Linked DNA regions of Homo sapiens: all the other regions are linked to region 1. The links are contacts of gene promoters, found by promoter capture Hi-C in blood cells and fetal thymus (Javierre and others, 2016). All regions are on one chromosome and are shown on one strand. The core of a region is centred on a gene start or on the middle of the fragment in contact, and the rest is flanking DNA. Distances in the headings are between cores, read along the strand shown.

What was found. Contacts are between HindIII fragments. The CHiCAGO score rates a contact against its expected background, and 5 or more counts as called.
Region 2: a fragment that was not itself captured here is called in contact with the fragment with the promoter of SCO1 in region 1 in 1 of 17 cell types (neutrophils); the score reaches 8.1 in neutrophils.
Region 3: a fragment that was not itself captured here is called in contact with the fragment with the promoter of SCO1 in region 1 in 1 of 17 cell types (neutrophils); the score reaches 5.9 in neutrophils.

What each region holds. Positions count from the first base shown.
Region 1 is chr17:10,695,529-10,700,275 of GRCh38, reverse strand. It overlaps SCO1 (synthesis of cytochrome C oxidase 1), which reads left to right and starts at 2,743. Exons shown (of 6, transcript NM_004589.4): 1 at 2,743-3,041; 2 at 4,445-4,535. The coding sequence starts at 2,769. ADPRM (ADP-ribose/CDP-alcohol diphosphatase, manganese dependent) reads right to left here and starts at 2,682. Exons shown (of 4, transcript NM_020233.5): 1 at 2,609-2,682. RefSeq lists a silencer at 2,315-2,644 and enhancers at 2,765-2,814, 2,530-2,824, 2,118-2,942, 2,943-3,766. The HindIII fragment of the contact is 16,251 bases long and covers 1-4,747 here.
Region 2 is chr17:13,038,837-13,043,583 of GRCh38, reverse strand. No RefSeq gene overlaps it. Among named protein-coding and RNA genes, the nearest start is that of ELAC2, 23 kb to the right of the region's middle. The HindIII fragment of the contact is 301 bases long and covers 2,778-3,078 here.
Region 3 is chr17:12,995,181-12,998,351 of GRCh38, reverse strand. It overlaps ELAC2 (elaC ribonuclease Z 2), which reads left to right. Exons shown (of 24, transcript NM_018127.7): 17 at 1,667-1,805; 18 at 2,374-2,412; 19 at 2,540-2,649. Among named protein-coding and RNA genes, the nearest start is that of ELAC2, 21 kb to the left of the region's middle. The HindIII fragment of the contact is 1,671 bases long and covers 415-2,085 here.

The sequences.
Region 1 (4,747 bases), core at 1,494-3,993:
CATCAATAATGAACTTGTAAAAGAAGTAGCTCTACCCTGAAAAGAGTATGATTTCTTCACTCTATTGTCAAAGGTGAAGGGGGCAGCAGGGAAAGTCTAGAGATTAATAAAGAGAGACTTTGTTAGGAGAAACTATTGTAACAGAGGCTCCTAGCCTAAGGGTGCAGCATATGTTTTCTACGCAGATACCATACCAAAAGGAAAGTTAAGTTGGGGCAGGAAATGTTTGTGGTTAGGAGTTAGGCACAAGGGGCAGGGGCCTGGAACAAAAATGAAGTAAACACATTAGGGTGCTGGGAAGTTCACAAAAGTTAGGGCCTAGCTGTCCCCAGTCAAACCAGCCTAAAGTTATGTCAAGAACAAAATCTGATCACTATTGATAGAACCAATATCAGATGATACTAATCCATGCCCTGCTTCTCTCAAGAAAAATATCTAAATTGGGGCCGGGTGTGGTGGCGCAAGCCTGTAATCCTAGCACTTTGGGAGGCCGAGGCGGGCAGATCACGATGTCAGGAAATCGAGACCGTCCTAGCTAACATGGTGAAACACTGTCTCTACTAAAAATATATATATTTTTTAAATTAGACAGGCCTGGTGGCACGCACCTCTAGTCCCAGCTACACGGGAGGATGAGGCAAGAGAATCGCTTGAACCCAGGAGGCGGAGGTTGCAGTGAGCTGAGATCGCACCACTGCACACTCCAGCTTGGGCGACAGAGGGAGACTTTGTCTCAAAAAAAAAAAAAAAAAAAAAAGAAAGAAAAGAAAAATATCTAACTTGGAAAACAAAACATAAACCTCATTTGGTGACTTTGGTGGTTTCACAGCAGTAATAAAAGTGATAAGGTCTATAAGGGATAACACTGTAGGCGCCTTCTGGCACTAAAGTTTCATGGGTCCTTGCCATCAGGCTCAGGTGTTACTAGCAATTCATCCAAAATGCAGTTATAAAACACCTACTTTGAGCCAGGAACTATATTTTATATTTATTTTATTTATTTTTTAGAGGCAGAGTCTTGCTTTGTTGCCCAGACTGGAAGGCAGTGGCCCGATCACAGCTCACTGCAGCTTCAAACTCCTAGGCTCCAGTGACCCACTCACCTCAGCCTCCCAAAGTGATGGGATTACAGGCGTGAGCCACCACATCTGGCCCCAAGAACTGTTTTCAATGATAGCATTTTATTTAATATTATAAAATTAATATGAAGAAGTTGCTACTAAAAGAAGCACTTTAGCAAATAAAATTTAATAGATCAGGTAGAAACACTGACTTCAATCTTAATTTGGGTGGCTGATCAGGTAACCTACAATTGGGCAATCAGAGATGAACAATAATTTTGTATGCTATCTGCCTGACTACACAAGGTACTTTTATGTCTTTTTGTCAATTACAAGAAAAAATTATCCCTGGGCAAACAAATACACAAAGATAAAAGAGCAAAAATCCTACCCACAGGCAACTATAAGATAGAAAAAAATAGTTTGATTAACGACTTGAAGTGCTGAACAAACATTTAAGAACTTTGGCAGAAATTTCTGAAAATTCTAGTCCAACCGCGAATCAAGAAACACAGGTAACACTATGTTCCGTTACTGGGTTAGAGAACAGAACAGTTGGCTAGTTTGGCTAACTCATAGAAAACAAGCAAACCAACCATGCTCTGGTCCAACAATCATCAGAGCACGAGTTTCTCCTACTCAGAGTCGGTCCCATGGGGGAAAAAAAAGCCACACAGGAGCGGGATCTGTAGTTAAGGAAGATAATTAGAGGACGATTTTCCTTTTTTTATTTCTCTGTATTTTGTAAAGCAACCACCGAGGTAGGGGCGGGGAGGGAGTGGTTAATATTGCGGATATTAAGATATAAATAAAGGCAGATGAAATGAAGTTAGACTTTCACAAAGAACGAAAAACCTACGAATGCTCTTGGCCTCATTAACAAGGAACATAAGCAGTTCCAGATGAGGAACCCATAACAAACTTCAAATAACGAAACTGTAGGGAGCAAGGGAGTCCGTGAGAGTATTTTAAGAAACTGGGACCCAGGAAGACTAAGTTAACGGATGGGATATCATGCTGTCTATATTTCTTTACACACTGCTATGCTTTATTAATTAGGTTACATTATAATGTTAAATAACTAGAAGCGCTGGGCATTTAAAGTTCTTCCAGACCGCCCTAACCACTCAAATTATCCTAATTAGCAATTTTTTTTAAGTTAAAGACTATTTCAATCGCAATGGGTCGGTTTCTATTTCAAAGATGTAAAGGAGTCAACATTCTGGCACTTCCTCTTGGCCGGCAGGACGAGGTTGACAAAGTCGGCCAGACAAGGTAGGGTTATGGGGGCTGCCCAGTCCCGTGGGTCTCTAGGCAGTGTGTTCTCTCTTCCGAGGTGGGGGTGTCCCCGGCGCGAGGAGCTAGCTGTGGTCACCGAAGCCCACGACCAAAGCGGGGGCCCCCAGCGCTTGGGGCCGCCTTGCCTCGGCCCAGCCGCGCACCTGGACCCCTAAGGCAGCCCCCTTCCCGGCGCTCCGCTGTCCCGCGGCCCCGCAGCACCGCCCAGCCCGCGCCAGACCCGCCTCCAGCCGCAGGGAACTACCTACCGTGCGCCGGCCCCTGGGCTGAAAGGCCTCTGACTACGGGCTATGTAACAGCGCCACCAACGAGCGGGACGGACAGAGCGACTCCTTCCGACTTCCGGAGGAAGCGGAACGCTACCGGAAATCGCGGGGAGGGTCAAAGGAGACCCGGTCTCCGAGGCTCATGGCGATGCTGGTCCTAGTACCCGGACGAGTTATGCGGCCTCTGGGTGGCCAACTTTGGCGCTTCTTGCCTCGCGGACTCGAGTTTTGGGGCCCAGCCGAGGGGACTGCGAGAGTCTTGCTGAGGCAGTTCTGCGCGCGGCAAGCGGAGGCGTGGCGTGCCTCGGGGCGCCCTGGCTATTGCCTGGGAACCCGGCCCCTCAGCACTGCGAGGCCGCCACCCCCGTGGTCGCAGAAGGGCCCCGGAGACTCCACGCGCCCCTCGAAGCCCGGGGTGAGTGCACACCTGGAACCCTTCTGGTGCTCGTCGCGGCTGTCGGCCAGCCCAGCGGCCACATCCCACTTGGTCGTAACCTCAGACACTACTCCGCCTCCCCTAAAGTTGTCCTTAGCTTGCGCGCCTTACCTGGGTCATGGAATTTCATCCTACATTTCCCGTGCCTTGCGGGTAGTCCCAGTTCTCCACAGAGAACTTGAGACTTTACACCCTCTCCACGTGGCTGGATGCCCCGACTTGGATTTTATGTTAGCGTTTCCATCAAAAAAAAAAAAAAAATTAAGTTTCAGGTTTTCTTAAGGGTATGAACCTAAAGTTTACCGTGATTGAGAAGTCAGAGGACTTTTATAATTTGTCACTTGAGCCCCATCCAGAGTTCCATGTATACGTTGAAATTGAAACAAAAAGTGGAACTTAGTTATGTGTGGATCTGCCTTTTTCTTGGGGTTCTCTCGAGTTCTAATTCTGACCCAGAAATAACTTGAGAGCCACTACCCTGTGGTAAGAGAAGTGGGTTTTTGGAGCTACGGGAAGGTTAATGAGTTAGGCCTAGTCTAGTTGGCCAACATCATCTTCATTTGGGGAGTTGAATAAGGGTACAAAGAAATAATGGGTGTAATTTGCAAGAAGCTCCACTTTTAGATTCCTCTTCTACTTTGGCATTGTTACTTCTGGAAGCCAGAGTTAAGTTAACCTCCCAAATTTCGTTTGGTCTATTTATCTCAGTATCAGCATAAGCAGATAATTGTTTTTTGTGTGTGTGTTTTTGGATTTTGGTTTTTGTTTTGAGACGGAGTTTTGCTCTTTTGCCCAGGCTGGAGTGCAGTGGCCCTATCTCGGCCCACTGCAACGTCCGCCTCCCGGGTTCAAGCGATTCTCCTGCCTCAGCCTCCCGTGTAGCTGGGTTTAGAGGGGTCCGCTACCACGCCCGGCTAATTTTTGTATTTTCAGTGGAGATGGGGTTTCACCATGTTGGCCATGCTGGTCTCAAACTCCCGACCTCAGGTGATCCACCCGCCTCCGCCTCCCAAAGTGCTGGGATTACAGGCGTGACCCACCGCGCCCGGCCATAATTGGTTTTAAAGTCATTACTGGAGCTAGGGTCACACATAGTAACAATCGTGGTACTTGAGCTTTTTTTTTTTTTTTTTTTTTTTTTTATTTACATGAAGAGAACTGACTTAGGGAACTTTCCCCTGGAGATGAATGCCTTTGTAGTTCAGATCCCAGACCTAACTGCATCCACAGAAACTTTGAGCATTTTCTCATCCCTGAAACATTTTGCACATTTAACATCATGGCCTGTGTGTATGTATATTAAAAACTACTTTAATAAGTTTGTATGGTTAAATGTTTGCATCTTACTAGAATTTTTATGTTTGAAATCCCTGCCCCAGTAGCCTGTTTCCTGGAAGTCTTTAGCAATCACATTTGCTATTGGAGGAGCTTTACTGGCTGGAATGAAGCACGTCAAGAAAGAAAAGGCAGAGAGTAAGTAGATTATCATCTGCTCAGCCCTGTATAAAGGTCTTCCTGGCTATGGACTAGCACCTTTTTTGTTGTTTTTTAGCTTTTTGTTTTGAAACAACTTTAGATTTACCAAAAAATTGCAAAGATAGCATAGGTTCTACATACCTTTCACCCAGCTTCCCCTAATATTAACATCTTGTATAACCATGACACATTTTTCATGACTAAGAAAT
Region 2 (4,747 bases), core at 1,679-4,178, 2.3 Mb before region 1:
CTTTGATAAATTCTGTACTTGTAAGCAAACTTCCCCTGCTGACCAATACCAGTTACCCCACCCAAAATGGTTCTCATGGTGAACTAACACATTAACTTCCCAGTAGGTGAGGCTTGCCAGAATTTGAGGAACAAATTCACACTAATTAAGTATGAATGTCCCCGGGTGATAGGGTTGGGAAGTTTGTCTCCTCCAAATCTCATGTTGAAATATGACTGTCAATGACGGAGGTGGAGCCTGGTGGGAGGTGATTGGGTCATGGGGATAGATACCTCATGAATGGCTTGGCACCATCCCTTTGGTGATAAGTGAGTTCTCACTCAGTTAGTTCACACAAGATCTGGTTATTTAAAAGTGTGTGGTGCCTCCCCTCCTTCTCTCTCTTTTTTTTCCCCTTTTCTCCCTCTCCCTCCTCTTTCTCTTGCTCCATCTCTCACCATGTGACATGTTGGCTCCCTTTTGCCTTCCATCATGATGGGAAGCTTCCTGAGACCTCACTGGAAGCAGATACTAGCACCATGCTTTGTGTACAGCCTGCAGAACCATGAGCCAATTAAACCTCTTTTCTTTATAAACTACGCAGTCTCAGGTGTTTCTTTATAGCAGTGTGAGAATGCACTAATACACCGGATAAATTCATAAAAGTGAATCCTGAACCAGTATGAATTGCACTAATACACTGGGTAAATTCATAAAAGTGAATCCCGAACCAGTATGAATCATACCAAAAGTCAGACAACTTCATTCATTCATTCACACATGTATTTGATGAAATTGTAATACCTGACATCTCTGTCTTGGATGTTGTGTTAGGCGCGGAGATGCTAAGGCAAATTGCAATGTTCCTGTGCTTAAGAAGCTTCCAGTATGTTACAGAGCGTTTTTTATAGTGTGGCCAATAGAGAGTTATAAAATTAGTCACAAATAGCGTTGTAAAAAATGCAAATATAATAGAACAAAAAAATAGAATAGGATAGAAACTATTAGTGTTTTCTCACTTTTACATCACCAACAACAACTAATTCTTAAATTCTCCAACCCAACTTGATGTCCAACCATTCAATTTGATTCCGACACTAACTACCTGGAGTCAGCACTGACCCCACAGTTTAAAGGCTCAGCCCCACAAGACTACCCCCTACTTCAGATGCCAACAACAAATGGGGTCTCCAGGCTACTTGCACTGATAAGACCCTGAAAAACAGGATGTGGACCAAGCAGGCTGGACCTAACATGGCACTGACTTTGACCTAGGTTTCTCCTAGGACCTCATTATATGTTCATTAACATACTCAACACACATCCACTAGCATCATGACTGTTCCTAGAACACCCATATTTGGTGTAAAACTGGGTGGCACCACGGTTCCAAGAAATCTTTTTCCAGGAACTTTCATGAATATTCCAGCTCGTGTTAAAGAAATCCATAAAGGTAACAACGCCAAAGTCCCTTCCATGTGACTTTTTTGGGTATGCCCATAAGCTCATTTCTTGAGTGTGTCCTTTTTGCTTTGCAATAAATCTCCATACTTTCACTATTTTCCAACTCATCCTTGAATTCCTTCTCATAATAGTGTCAAGAATCTAGACAGCGGCTGGAGTTGAGGTCCCACTGGCATTTGGTGACCTCCCTCAGCCCACCAGGATCATGATTATTTGCTAGAATGAGTCACAGAACTCAGGAAAATGCTACACTTACTATTCCAGTTTATTATCAGGGAGACCAATGAAGAGCCAGATGAAGGATAGAAGGTCAGGTCAGGAAGGACCCAGGGCTCAGAAGCCTCTGTCCCTGTAGAGCTGGGGTACATCACCCTCCCAGTACATAGATGGGTTCACCAACCAGAGAACTCCCCTAAACCTTGTAGTTCTGTGTTTCATAGAGCGGTTTCATTATGTGGGCATAACTGATTAAATCACTGGTCATTAGTGATTGATCTCAATCTCTAGCCCTTCTCTGCTCTCTTGGAGGTTGGGGATTGCAGCTGAAAAGTCCAACTCTTTAATTGTACAACTAGCCCCTATTCTAAAGCTATCTTATACTTCACCCTACGAGTCATCTTGTTAGCATACAAAAGACACTCCTATAGCTCAGGAAATTCCAAGGGTTTTAGGAGTTCTGTGTCAAGAATCAGTAACAAAGAGAAAACATATTTTATGATAATACCTCAGTTGGACAAGGTAGGAATTAGTGTTATTTTGTGGAAGTTTTGTTCTCAACTGTTCATATATGTGTTTGTGTGTCTTCCTTCCGGATCTTGATATAAAAGATGTTTCTTACTGTGGACTGTGGTAAAAACATTTAAAAATCTGGCAGCTAGACATGCCTGCCTCCAAGACTGCCCTGTAAAGTCTGACATGTTCACTGTTTAAAATTTAAAAAAAAAAAAACTTTAGACAAATTAAATTGACAGAGTTTAATTGAGCAAAGCATGATTCGCAAATTGGGCAGCCCTTTCCTCCCCCAACCAGAATAGGTTCACAGAGACTCAGCGCTGCTGTGTGATCGGAGAGGATTTATGGACAGAAAAAGGAAAGCGATGTACAGAAAATGGAAATGAGGTACAGAAGCAGCTAAATTAGTTACAGCTTAGCCTCTGCCTTGTTTGAACAGGGTTTGAACAGTTGGCTGCCTGTGATTGGCCAAAATTCGGTGATTGGTACAAGAATAGGAGACAACCTGTTTACACATCTGCTTAGGTTCCAGTTCACTATGTAGGGAGCAACTTGGAGACTGAATGTAAAATATATGCAAGGAGACAGCTTTAGGGTAAGCTTAATTTAACGTCACTATGCTGGTGCTTCAGGAGGGCTGGTGGATGACATTTCTCCGATCCTTCAACTCCTCTTTCTGGATCTTCATTCCCCAACTCCTCCTACGATGTATAGGATCTAATTCCTATAATAAATCTTATGTTCCATGTGTTTTCTTAAAAGAAGTTTGTAAAACACCTTTCTGGAGGAGACATTATACAGTATTTGTAATGATTTGTGTCTGTGTGCAAAGACTTGACAAAAACATGTAAAACATAAAAAGAAAGGCCAGACAACAAGTGCCTTTAACGAGCAGGAAAAGCTTCTTATAAGAGGTAACATTGAACTGAGCCTTGAGTGATGAGCAGAGACACCCATGAGACAACAGCTCTCAGAACAACAAATCTGCTTTTCTCTCTCCCACTAAGCGTGATCACTTCACTTCCATCCAAGTCTATTCTGCATTTATCACTTGAAAATTCAGCAAAATATTCATCCAACTAATAAGAAATCAGCCAATTCAGTTGCATGCTTGCATCTGTGTGTTGTTTCCGGTGAAATTGTCCCAAGAAGATGCCCCAAACCCCAGGCACCCAGAGCCTACCTAAGACAGAGGTTAGACCAGGACAACAGAAAACCTATTCCCCAAATTAGAGACTTTAAAAGGTGAAGTTTACTTATTTCTTGTAGGGCAATAAGTGGACTGACCATAAAGAGAGGAGTCCAGATGTCTTATTGGGTTCCCTGGAAACAGATTCTGGAATGAGTTGCATATAGAAAGTTCACTGTGGAAAAGACAGCAGTAAGGAAAGAGGAAAGGCAAGAATAGGCAGAGGGGAAAATTGACCCACAATGTAGCTGCAGCTGACGCCTCAGCCAGTACAACAGGGAGCTCTGCAGTTGGAGTAACTCTTCAGAGATGCCCGCAGTTGAGGTAAGAGGGCTGAGCTTTTGTAATCTCAGGGTAAAGCAGTTCCCTGTAGCCATGGACAATTCTCAACGATGACCATGACTGTGAGCCCTCACAGCTATGAACGATATTCCTAGGAGCTAGGAAACGGGTGTGTGGGCCTTGAAAAGGGCATCTGGTACAGCCCACCATGATCTAACACAATCCTATATTCTGGTTAACTGGCTTTCCAGTTACTGGCCTGGAATGAGTATGAGCTATAAAGACAAATTTTGTCAAGGTTTGATTAAGCCTGTGTGACTGCGTGACTCCTTTGTTGTAAGTACAGAATTTAAAACAGCATTAAGAGGAGAAACAGTCTGATAGGCAGGGGTAGACCCAGTCCTTTGACAAGAGATATTTCCAAGGCCAATACAGAAAGAGGACAGCAGACTTCTAAAATTATCAGATTCAAAAGAGTGTATGAAGAACCATCTGTCATTTTTGGATGGCCAGAGATGATTTTTTCTGGTGATAATATCATCCCTATTTTGCTTTAGGAGGCCATTTCTTTCTCGCCATCAGTCTATAAGGTTAGGATGGGCTGGCCCTTTCCCTTCATTCTATAGGTGGGCAAGGAAACCATCTTGGCAAATAAGAAGTCCCCCTACTTCTGGGATTGTTCAGAGTTGGGCATACAATCCAAACTAGCCAATGAAAGTTAATGAACCTCATCCCCAAGACTTTCATTGGAACATTTGTGAACAAGACCTTCCCTTTCTGCCAGGGATACTAAGATAATGGACCATCTGCCTGGAGCTTCCAATATCCATCTGCTTCCTCCTGGGTAGAGCCCATCTGAGAATTAGACCGACAAAGAGGAGCGTGGGACTCAGAGGTAGAGTGGGACAAATTCCTGGTGATATCTTTTGAACATTGGTGTTGCTATAAAGGAATATCTGAGGCTGAGTAATTTTAAAATAAAGAGGTTTATTTGGCTCATGGTTCTGCAGACTGTATAAGAAGAATGTTTCCAGTATCTGCTTCTGGTGAGGGCCTCAGACTGCTTCCATTTATGCTGAAAGGTGAAAGGGATCCAGTGTG
Region 3 (3,171 bases), core at 1-2,500, 2.3 Mb before region 1:
GTCCTGCTGTACTCACCAGTCGATTTGAAATGCGGTATCAAGCCCTGTCACTTGTCATGTCGACTGGAGTGTCCAGGAGAGGAGCGTGGCCTTACTGCATTTTATAGCCTCAGTAGCAAACTTTACCCTGGGAATCACCAAAATTCATCCCATGATGTCTTTTAATAAACAGCTGATTTTACTGTGGGCAGTACACCTAGCTAAGAAATTAGCTCCTTTAATTTTTACATTAATCCTATGAAGTGGTGAATAACTACCCATTTTGTTGATGAGTGACCTGATATTCAGAGAGGTGACTTGCTATGGTTCCTACAGCTGGTAAGTGGGGCATCTGAAGTTTGAGCGGGGACTTGGGGTCTTGATTGCTACATGGTATTGTCCCCCAGCCATTTGTTGGTAGTATGTTAAAAAGCTTTAGGGTTTTGCACATTTGTGTTCAGAACCTTTATTGGATTCCCCTTGACATGTTTTTTAGTTGATTCTCTTGGGTTTGCCTGGGGTCATCAGCAGAGAGATTAGTCAAATGCGTTGTGACATGTACACGTTATCTCTACAGATAGTATGTGAAGAAAATAAGATTGTGAATTACCAGGTTTGTTTTAAATTTTGCTCTGCCATCTTACATGCTAGTGGTGGATGATAAACAACCAAATAGTGCATTAAATATATACAGCAGTGACGAGATGTGCCCTGACATCAGAAATATACAATCTGGGGTGTGTTTCTCTGTGGATGAGGACATGCAATAAAGCAGCTTGGAGTGAGCCGGCCTCTCCCGGGGGCTGAGATCCTGGGGGAAGAAGGGCTTTTTGAGTTTGACCTGACACCCTGCGAGCAGCTTTTGAACCAGCTGAAGCTAATGGGAAGGTGCTATTGCCACCTTGCCTCCGCCTCCCGACTCCTTTTTCCCCCAGAAGGTAATGTCTTAGCACCGGGGCTTCTCTCTGCAAAATGGGTGCAGCCCTCTCAGTGTTCGTGGCTCCTCCCAGAGAATGAAGGAGGCCAGAGCGGGTCAGCACTCTCTCTGCCTTGGAGCAGAGCTTCTGAAATGGACTGCACAGCAGAATAGCCCAAGAAGTTTGTCAGAATCCAGACTTCCAGAGCCCTGCCTAAAACCAAGTCAGAAACCCCGAGTGACACCTGGGAGTCTGCGTTAACTGGCTCCCTGAATGAAGCACCTGCAGCCCGCCCTGCACCAGGTGTCTTTGAGGACATGAGCTGAGGAAACCCCGACCACTTGCAAAGGGGGAAAAGTCCGATGGCAGCTGGACCTAGAAAGAGTCTCATATGGCCCAGTGCCTGTCCTGGTATTTTCAACAGAGGCTGTGGCCACAGTCAATCTGCATGGTCAGATTCATTGTTAGGACTAAATGCTTTAAGCCTCCTATAAACTTTTTTTTTTTTTTTTTGATGCCCAGCCTTTGTGTAAGTCTACTTGAAAGGGTTTCAGGGTTCCATGGATACTTCTTTGCTATAAAGAGGATGACACATGTAAAATCACCTTTATGGTTAAATTAATTGGCTTTTATATTAGCTCCTCAAAGCAAAGCAGGAGAGACAGAAATTTCTGCAGTTGCTTCTTGGTCCTGTCCAAAGCAGACATCAGCCTCTGAACCATCAGCAGTCTTCCTAGTGGCAGTGACTCTCTTCCTCTTCTCTTCTGCAGCCCCGACACGTCTCTGCTACTGGACTGTGGTGAGGGCACATTTGGGCAGCTGTGCCGTCATTACGGAGACCAGGTGGACAGGGTCCTGGGCACCCTGGCTGCTGTGTTTGTGTCCCACCTGCACGCAGATCACCACACGGTGAGTGTTGGGCTGGACCACAAAGCTGGAGCCTGGAGGAGGCACTGCCACGTTGAGTTGGCCCTTTGGCTGCGTCTTTTCCTCCGCTTCCAAACTTGCCCAGAGCTTTTGTTACTCATCTCTGGCTAGGAAATGGTTTTTTGCAAAACTCAACATAGTCCTTCTGCGCCACAAGAATGTCTTCTCTTCCTGTTCAGTTCCTTTCCTGCAGCAGGACAGGTTTGAGTTTACCCAGCCTTCCTTGAGTCTTGAATCTCACACGGCCTGCTCAGCGGAAGCTTTGACCGGATGCAGGAGGTGTGGCTATGAGACCCTCACCTTGGTCTCCTGGGGTGCCGGGCCCTGGGCCGTTGCCCTCTTCCCAGCACGGGTCGTGTCGCTTTCTGCCTGTGACATTTCAGGGCCATGGCGCAGGGGGCTCGGCCTGTGCCACCCCCACTGCGGCTGTGTTAGAGGCTGGTGGGTGACGTCGGGCTGGCAACTCCTGCAAGAGAGAGGGCTGCAGACCCTAACCCGGAGGGGATGGCCCTGGGGCCTGGCTGACGCATGTCTCCTGTTTCCTTGCCAGGGCTTGCCAAGTATCTTGCTGCAGAGAGAACGCGCCTTGGTAAGTGTGGCACTTGATGGGCGTTCTGAGTTTCAGCGGTTTACACATCATCCGCCATGCCTCTTGGCACTCCAGTTTTTATTGAGATGTTCTGTCGTCGAGTCGGCACTTGCATTTTTTGTTCCAGGCATCTTTGGGAAAGCCGCTTCACCCTTTGCTGGTGGTTGCCCCCAACCAGCTCAAAGCCTGGCTCCAGCAGTACCACAACCAGTGCCAGGAGGTCCTGCACCACATCAGGTGAGCATCCAGGGCAGCCTGGCCCGCTGGGCTGTTGCTTGCTGCCGTCTCCTTCAGAAGCTCAAGGTGGACACTGGGGTAGTTACCAATATCCCCCAGCAGCCTTGCCCTTGACATGGTCCCAGATGGCAGAAGCAGGGGAGAAGTGCATTGGCTGAAGGACAGAAACCATTAGATAGTTCCCATGTAATGCTTATTTTCTTAGAAGCATTTCTTCCCAGTCCTCATTTGAGTTCTGAGCTGCTTTCTAAACTTCGAGCAGCTTTTCTTGATGAGACAGTTCCAGAGCCAAGCACCCAAATAGTGGCTAGCACAGAGAATGTCCATAGCAGGTGTGTGGCTAGCTGGCAGGTGGCACCATCCTCACCCCAAGGGGAAGGAGTCCCCTCTGCTGGAGCCATCCGTGGCCCGTGCTGCCTGAGCCGGAGGCAGCATTCACCTGCTGGGTTTCTCCCAGTGGCCTAGAGGCTTTGGTTTGGCTCTTTATATTTGACTGCTGTTTCCTCATCATAGTGACTATGA